Linked DNA regions of Homo sapiens: all the other regions are linked to region 2. The links are contacts of gene promoters, found by promoter capture Hi-C in human tissues and cell types (Jung and others, 2019). All regions are on one chromosome and are shown on one strand. Each heading gives the region's core, a stretch centred on a gene start or on the middle of the fragment in contact. The rest is flanking DNA. Distances are from core to core; before and after follow the strand shown. Region 1 has its middle 11 kb from the start of SPACDR. Region 2 holds the start of EPO (erythropoietin). Region 3 holds the start of PILRB (paired immunoglobin like type 2 receptor beta).

Region 1 (2,700 bases), core at 5-2,504, 270 kb before region 2:
CACTCACTACAACCTCTACCTCCCGGGTTCAAGCAATTCTCCTGCCTCAGCCTCCCAAGTAGCTGGGACTACAGGTGAGTGCCGCCACGCCTGGCTAATTTTTCGTATTTTTAGTAGAGACGGGGTTTCACTGCGTTAGCCAGAATGGTCTCCATCTCCTGACCTCGTGATCCACCTGCCTCAGCCTCCCAAAGTGCTGGGATTACAGGTGTGAGCCACCATGCCCGGCCTGGAATCTGTGTTTTTAACAAGCTCTCAGGAGATTGTGATATGTCCTAAGCTTCAGAATCCCAACAGTCTACATTCCCATGCAGTGTGGCAGTGATTCCCAAACTTCAGCAGGCGTGTTCAAACAGATTGCTGGCCCCCATCCTAGGGTTTTTGATTCAGTAGGTCTGCGGTGCAGGGCCTGGAGTTTGAATTTCTACTACTCTCTGGGGAATGCGATGCTCTGGTCCAGGACCACACTCTAATAACTATTTCATTTATTTTCCTTTTTTTTTTTTCTTGAGACAGAGCCTTGCTTTTGAGACAGAGATTCAGACAGGTTAATTCACTTGCTGAAGGTCACACAGCCAGGAAAGGCAGAATTTGAACCTGGTCTTTGTGAGCCCAAAGGCTGGGCTGGTTCTGTCTCCGGCAACTGCTAGTTAGCACCTCCCAGGAACTTACCTTGTTTCTGCAGGTTAACTCAACACTCCCTGAAGCCTGAGGAAGTTTGTTATTTTTATTTTTATTTTTTGAAGACAGAGTCTGATTCTATCGCCCAGGCTGGAGTTCAGTGGCGTGATCTCAGCTCACTGCAACCTCTGCCTCCCAGGTTCAAGCAATTCTCCTGTCTCAGCCTCCCGAGTAGCTGGGATGACAGGTGCGCGCCACCATGCCCAGCTAATTTTTTTTTCTTTTTTTGAGATGGAGTCTCACTCTGTCACCCAGACCAGAGTGCAGTGGCAAGATCTCAGCTCACTGCAAGCTCCGCCTCCCAGGTTGACACCATTCTCCTGCCTCAGCCTTCCAAGTAGCTAGGGCTACAGGTGCCGGCTACCACGCCCAGCTAATTTTTTGTATTTTTAGTAGAGACGGGGTTTCACCGTGTTAGCCAGGATGGTCTCGATCTCCTGACCTCGTGATCCTCCCACCTCGGCCTCCCAAAGTGCTGGGATTACAGGCGTGAGCCACCATGCCCAGCCAATTTTTGTATTTTTAGTAGAGGGTTTCGTCATGTTAGCCAGGCTGGTCTCGAACTCCTGACGTCAGGTGATCCACCCACCTCAGCCTCCCAAAGTGCTGGGATTACAGGTGTGAGCCACTGTGCCCAGCCATCAAGTCATCATTTTATTTAAGGAGCTTGAGTCTCAGTGAAGGAAAGTGACTCTCAAAAATCACCAAGTGCCTGCGATCCCAGCCCTTTGGGAGGCAGAAGCAGGAGGATTGACCAGGAGATGGAGGCTATAGTGAGCTATGATTGTGCCACTGTCCTCCTGTCTGGCCAACTGAGCGAGACTCTGTCTCAAAAATAAATAAAAAATAAAAATAAGAGTCGTACAGCAAAGTAGTAGCAATATTGAGACTAGGACCAAGGTCTCTTGACTCCGCATCAAGGGCTCCTCCTACTACTTCCTGCACATGGTATTCTTTATCACTTCCAAAATGACATTCCTAGCTGGGTGCAGTGGTTCACACCTGTAATCCCAGCACTTTGGGAGGCCGAGGTAGGAGGATTGCTTGAGGCCAGGAGTTTGAGACCAGACTGGGCAACATAGCTAGAACCCATCGCCACAAATATTAAAAAAGAATTAGCTGGGCATGGTGGCATACACCTGTAGTTTCAGCTATTCGGGAGGCTGTGGTGGGAGGATCGCTTGAGTCCAGGAGTTGGAGGCTGCAGTGAGCCATGATTGCGCCACTGCCCTCCAGCCTGGGCAACAGAGCCAGACCCTGTCTCTAAAAAACAAAAACCACTGGCCGGGTGCAGTGGCTCACGCCTGTAATCCTAGCACTTCGGGGAGCTGAGACAGGTGGATCATCTGAGGTCAGGAGTGCAAGACCAGCCTGGACAACATGGTGAGACCCTGTCTCTACTAAAAATACAAAAGTTAGCCGGGTGTGGCCAGGCGCGGTGGCTCATGCCTGTAATCCCAGCACTTTGGGAGGCCAAGGCAGGCGGATCACGAGGTCAGGAGATCAAGACGATCCTGGCTAACATGGTGAAACCCCGTTCTCTACTAAAAATACGAAAAAAAATTAGCCGGGCGTGGTGGCATGTACCTGTAATCCCAGCTACTCAGGAGGCTGAGGCAGGAGAATGGTGTGAACCCGGGAGGCGGAGCTTGCCGTCAGCGGAGATCATGCCACTGCACTACAGCCTGGGTGACAGAGTGAGACTCTGTCTCAAAAAAAAAAAAAAAAAAACCAAAAAACAAAAACGGTTACATGGGTGTGGTGGCAAGCACCTGTAATCCCAGCTACTCCAGAGGCTGAGGCAGGAGAACCACTTGAACCCCACGGGCGGAGGTTGCAATGAGCCGAGATCACACCACTGCACTCCAGCCTTGGCGATAGAGTGAGACTCCATCTCAAAAAAACACACAAAAAAACTGTCATCAAGAGGCAGCTTCCTTCTGCCCACCCCTTTCCTTCCTCTCCCACAAGTCTGCCTGTGCCTGCTCAGCCAAGCCTAGACAGGGCTCCAGATCTGGG
Region 2 (2,700 bases), core at 21-2,520:
AGATCTACACATTCCAGTCTTTTTTTGTTTTTGAGACAGGCTCTCACTCTGTCGCCCAGGCTGCAGTGCAGTGGCACGATCATGGCTCACTACGGCCTCGAACTCCTGGGCTCAGGTGATCCTCCTGCCTTAGCCTCCTGCATATTTGGGACTACAGGCGTGAGCCACCACACCTGACTAATTATTTTTTATTTATTTATTTATTTTAGAGACAAGGTCTTGCCATGTTGTCCGGGCTGGTCTCGAACTCCTGGGCTCAAAGGATCTTCCTGCCTTGGTCTCCCAAAGTGCTGGGATTATAGGTGTCAGCTGCGGCGCCTGGACCTTTCCTGTCTTTTATGAAACCTGAATGGGATAGGCTGGTAGTTTCACCACACCCATTTGACAGATGAGGACATTGAGGGCTCAAGGACGAGGCCACTTTCTAAGGTGTGAGAGACCAGCTAGTCTTGGTCTCCTGCTCTGGGAATCTCACTCCTCTGGCTCAGGGTTTCCAGAAGCCATAAAACCTTAGCTGTAAATCCCAGCCCCCATCACTCTTGGTGTTAGCTGTATTTCAGTGTTCTTAAGAACTCAGCAATGCAGCCTAGCTAACCTACACCACAGGTCAAATAAACAGATGTCAAGGTGCATGTGTGTCCTGCACAATGGACTGTGTGCTCTGTGCACTAAAAGTTAAGTGTCTGGGGTGGGGGCTGGGTGCGGTGGCTCACGCCTGCAATCCCAGCACTTTGAGAGGCCGAGGAGGGTGGATCACCTGAGGTCAGGAGTTCAAGACCGGTATGGGCAATATGGCAACACCCCATCTCTACTAAAAATACAAAACATAGCCGGGTGTAAAGGTGTGCCTGTAGTCCCAGCTGCTCCAGAGGCTGAAGCAGGAGAATTGCTTGAACCCAGGAGGCAGAGGTTGTAGTGAACGGGAGATGGCACCACTGCACTGCCTGGGCAACATAGGGAGGCTACATCTCCAGAAAAAAAAAAAAAAGTTAAGTGTCTGGGTTTGCAGAGTACTAGACGGTGAGGAGTGAGGTGGGGAGGAAGAACCCCAAATTTCTTGCCCTATTTGCCCCCATCAAATTCCTCAACATGGTCAACATTGTTTCTAGAACATGTCCTGGGATTGTGGGAAGGGAGACCACTCATTTGCCCCTCCCTAAAGCTTCTGGGCTTCCAGACCCAGCTACTTTGCGGAACTCAGCAACCCAGGCATCTCTGAGTCTCCGCCCAAGACCGGGATGCCCCCCAGGGGAGGTGTCCGGGAGCCCAGCCTTTCCCAGATAGCACGCTCCGCCAGTCCCAAGGGTGCGCAACCGGCTGCACTCCCCTCCCGCGACCCAGGGCCCGGGAGCAGCCCCCATGACCCACACGCACGTCTGCAGCAGCCCCGCTCACGCCCCGGCGAGCCTCAACCCAGGCGTCCTGCCCCTGCTCTGACCCCGGGTGGCCCCTACCCCTGGCGACCCCTCACGCACACAGCCTCTCCCCCACCCCCACCCGCGCACGCACACATGCAGATAACAGCCCCGACCCCCGGCCAGAGCCGCAGAGTCCCTGGGCCACCCCGGCCGCTCGCTGCGCTGCGCCGCACCGCGCTGTCCTCCCGGAGCCGGACCGGGGCCACCGCGCCCGCTCTGCTCCGACACCGCGCCCCCTGGACAGCCGCCCTCTCCTCCAGGCCCGTGGGGCTGGCCCTGCACCGCCGAGCTTCCCGGGATGAGGGCCCCCGGTGTGGTCACCCGGCGCGCCCCAGGTCGCTGAGGGACCCCGGCCAGGCGCGGAGATGGGGGTGCACGGTGAGTACTCGCGGGCTGGGCGCTCCCGCCCGCCCGGGTCCCTGTTTGAGCGGGGATTTAGCGCCCCGGCTATTGGCCAGGAGGTGGCTGGGTTCAAGGACCGGCGACTTGTCAAGGACCCCGGAAGGGGGAGGGGGGTGGGGCAGCCTCCACGTGCCAGCGGGGACTTGGGGGAGTCCTTGGGGATGGCAAAAACCTGACCTGTGAAGGGGACACAGTTTGGGGGTTGAGGGGAAGAAGGTTTGGGGGTTCTGCTGTGCCAGTGGAGAGGAAGCTGATAAGCTGATAACCTGGGCGCTGGAGCCACCACTTATCTGCCAGAGGGGAAGCCTCTGTCACACCAGGATTGAAGTTTGGCCGGAGAAGTGGATGCTGGTAGCTGGGGGTGGGGTGTGCACACGGCAGCAGGATTGAATGAAGGCCAGGGAGGCAGCACCTGAGTGCTTGCATGGTTGGGGACAGGAAGGACGAGCTGGGGCAGAGACGTGGGGATGAAGGAAGCTGTCCTTCCACAGCCACCCTTCTCCCTCCCCGCCTGACTCTCAGCCTGGCTATCTGTTCTAGAATGTCCTGCCTGGCTGTGGCTTCTCCTGTCCCTGCTGTCGCTCCCTCTGGGCCTCCCAGTCCTGGGCGCCCCACCACGCCTCATCTGTGACAGCCGAGTCCTGGAGAGGTACCTCTTGGAGGCCAAGGAGGCCGAGAATATCACGGTGAGACCCCTTCCCCAGCACATTCCACAGAACTCACGCTCAGGGCTTCAGGGAACTCCTCCCAGATCCAGGAACCTGGCACTTGGTTTGGGGTGGAGTTGGGAAGCTAGACACTGCCCCCCTACATAAGAATAAGTCTGGTGGCCCCAAACCATACCTGGAAACTAGGCAAGGAGCAAAGCCAGCAGATCCTA
Region 3 (2,700 bases), core at 94-2,593, 360 kb before region 2:
GTCCTCAGGCAGGGTGGGCCACCCTCTTGAGGCCTTGCCCAAACAGCCAGGGGGTCCCTTGTCCTCTTTTCGGCCCACCTTTGCAGGTGGGACCAGTTCAGTCCAAAGCCCCGGTGCCTCAGTTTCCCTGTGGGTTGAACAAGGAGAATGAGGTGTATAGGGCCTGGCTCAGACGGAGGGGTTTCCTGAGCATGGGGAGCCTGTTTCCTCAGACCTGTGAAGGGAAGGAGGGTGGATCGGCCTGACTGGCCCTGGGAAGCACAGAGGAGCCTACTGGGACCAGGGAAGAGACTGACAAGAGAAGGGAGGCCTGTCCCTGCCTGCTTCTGTCTCAAGAAGATTGTTATCACTTCCTCTGGTGAAATCCTGCCTTCCTGTCCCCACGGCCCCTCAGCTGATGCCACCTTACTCTGGAGAGGATGGGCAGAGCCTCCTATGGAGGGAGCCCTGTGGGTCACCAAAGCTCCAGTGACCACCCCCGGGCAAAGACCTGCAGATCCCCTGTTAGAGACGGGCCCAGGACTTTGTGCGGGGTGCCCACTGTTGCTCTGAGCCTTCACTTCCTCAGGGAGGCTTCCTCAGGATCTCGAACCTGCGGAAGGAGGACCAGTCTGTGTACTTCTGCCAAGTCCAGCTGGACATACAGATCAGGGAGGCTGTCGTGGCAGTCCATCAAGGGGACCCACCTCACCATCACCCAGGGTGAGTCCAGCTGCCCTGGCACCAAGGAACCTTCCTGGTTCAGCCATAGGCTCAGGTGTGTGGAGGGAATGACCTGAGGGGCTGTATGAGGGAACAACCTCCTGGGGCTCCCCTATGCCTGAGTTCCTGCAACTCAGAAGTTGAGGCCCAGAGATCCAGGTAGAGGGGGCTCCAGTCCTGGGACTGCCCTGCAAGTCATGTGGCCTGGGACAGGGCTTCTCCAAGCTCTGTCCCCTCCTGTGTAGGGCAGGGAGGTCAGAGGGGACCCTGCAGATCCAGTCTCATGTCTGGGGGTCAAGGGGTGGCCTCGAGAGGGACCAGTCTCTGTGTAGGGGACCGTCAGCCCCCTCACCCCTTGAGCAAGACTGTGGTCCCTGCACCAAGGGAGCAGGCCTGGGGTGGGAAGAGGCCAGCTGGGCTGTGGTGGTGCCTGGGGACTGCATGGGAGCCCCTGCCAGGGAGGGAGAGGGACAGAGGACAAGCTGGGGGCTCTGGTGCTTGGGCTGGGGGCTGAGCGCCTGTGACCTCCACTGGCTTCCTCCTTCTCCTCTCTGAGGACTGAATCTGGGGTGCAGCAGAGCACAGACTCAGGCCCGCCTTTCCTCTCCCTGAAAGAGCCTGCGCTGGCCTTGGACAGAGAAAGGGATGAGAAGTGAGGCTGAGTGCGGTGGGGTCTGCAGGGATCCAGGTGGGAGGGGCCCAGCCAGCCAAGGTGAGGCCCAGCCCCTCAGCAGGAAGATGGGCACTGGGGCCCTTGGGCAGGGCTGACTTGACACTTTTGTGTGACTTGAGCCACTGTGCCCAGCCTGAACACCCTTTCCTGGTAAAACACTCCACAAACCAGGAAGAGAAGGAATGTACTGCAACAAAATAAAGGCCAGTCATGCAAGGCCCATGGCTGAAAGTCTTTCAGTCATTTTAGATGAAAGACTGAAATCTTTGCCTCCAAGATCAGGAACAAGAGAAGGATGCCCGCTCTCACTACTTCTATTCAACACAGGATTTGAAGTCAGGCCGGGCACAGTGGCTCACGCCTGTAATCCCAGCACTTTTGGAGGCTGAGGCGGGCAGATTACTTGAGCCTATGAGTGTGAGACCACCCTGGCCAACATGGCAAAACCCCATCTCTACTAAAAAAAAAAAAAAAAAAAGGATTTGAAGTCCTGGCCGGAGCAATTAGGCAAGGGATAAAAAGGCACCTAAGGCCCTTTTGCAATAAGAAGCCAGATGGATAAAGGAAGTGCTGGTCACCCTGGAGGTGTACTGGTTTGGGGAAGGTCCCCGGCCCCCACAGCCCTCTGGGGAGCCTCACCCTGGCTCTCCCCACTCACCTCAGCCCTCAGGCAGCCCCTCCACAGGGCCCCTCTCCTGCCTGGACAGCTCTGCTGGTCTCCCCGTCCCCTGGAGAAGAACAAGGCCATGGGTCGGCCCCTGCTGCTGCCCCTGCTGCTCCTGCTGCAGCCGCCAGCATTTCTGCAGCCTGGTGAGTACCCAGGACCGCCCAGGTATGGTCTCTGCCCAAACCACAGGAGGGGCCAACCCAAGACAAAGGCAGAACATCTGGGGCAGGGGCCAGGCTCCCACCTCCAGCAAACAAGGGCGGGTCCCATAGGGGTGGGTGCCGCCATCTCTTCCCCCTCCACCCTCCCCCATGCCTGAAGAGTGGGAGACCCAGGCCAGAGGTCAGTCCAGCCACCTGTCACACGACTGCCTGTGGGTGAAGGTGTGGGAGGGTCTGGGGTCACCCTCTTTGTGTCCTGAGGTGGTTTCAAGGTCTCTCCCCCACTCACTCCCTCCTTCCTCTAGGTGGCTCCACAGGATCTGGTCCAAGCTACCTTTATGGGGTCACTCAACCAAAACACCTCTCAGCCTCCATGGGTGGCTCTGTGGAAATCCCCTTCTCCTTCTATTACCCCTGGGAGTTAGCCATAGTTCCCAACGTGAGAATATCCTGGAGACGGGGCCACTTCCACGGGCAGTCCTTCTACAGCACAAGGC

What was found. Contacts are between HindIII fragments. The study calls those that stand out against the background at their distance.
Region 1: a fragment that was not itself captured here is called in contact with the fragment with the promoter of EPO in region 2 in 1 of the 25 tissues and cell types used here (dorsolateral prefrontal cortex).
Region 3: a fragment that was not itself captured here is called in contact with the fragment with the promoter of EPO in region 2 in 1 of the 25 tissues and cell types used here (aorta).

What each region holds. Positions count from the first base shown.
Region 1 is chr7:100,452,164-100,454,863 of GRCh38, forward strand. No RefSeq gene overlaps it. Among named protein-coding and RNA genes, the nearest start is that of SPACDR, 11 kb to the right of the region's middle. The HindIII fragment of the contact is 6,473 bases long and covers 1-2,700 here.
Region 2 is chr7:100,719,198-100,721,897 of GRCh38, forward strand. EPO (erythropoietin) reads left to right here and starts at 1,271. Exons shown (of 5, transcript NM_000799.4): 1 at 1,271-1,796; 2 at 2,361-2,506. The coding sequence starts at 1,784. The HindIII fragment of the contact is 31,866 bases long and covers 1-2,700 here.
Region 3 is chr7:100,356,182-100,358,881 of GRCh38, forward strand. It overlaps PILRB (paired immunoglobin like type 2 receptor beta), which reads left to right and starts at 1,936. Exons shown (of 4, transcript NM_178238.4): 1 at 1,936-2,185; 2 at 2,509-2,700. The coding sequence starts at 2,122. It overlaps STAG3L5P-PVRIG2P-PILRB (STAG3L5P-PVRIG2P-PILRB readthrough), which reads left to right. Exons shown (of 17, transcript NR_036570.1): 13 at 569-702; 14 at 2,039-2,185. It overlaps MIR6840 (microRNA 6840), which reads left to right and starts at 470; the gene lies at 470-540. The HindIII fragment of the contact is 7,568 bases long and covers 1-2,700 here.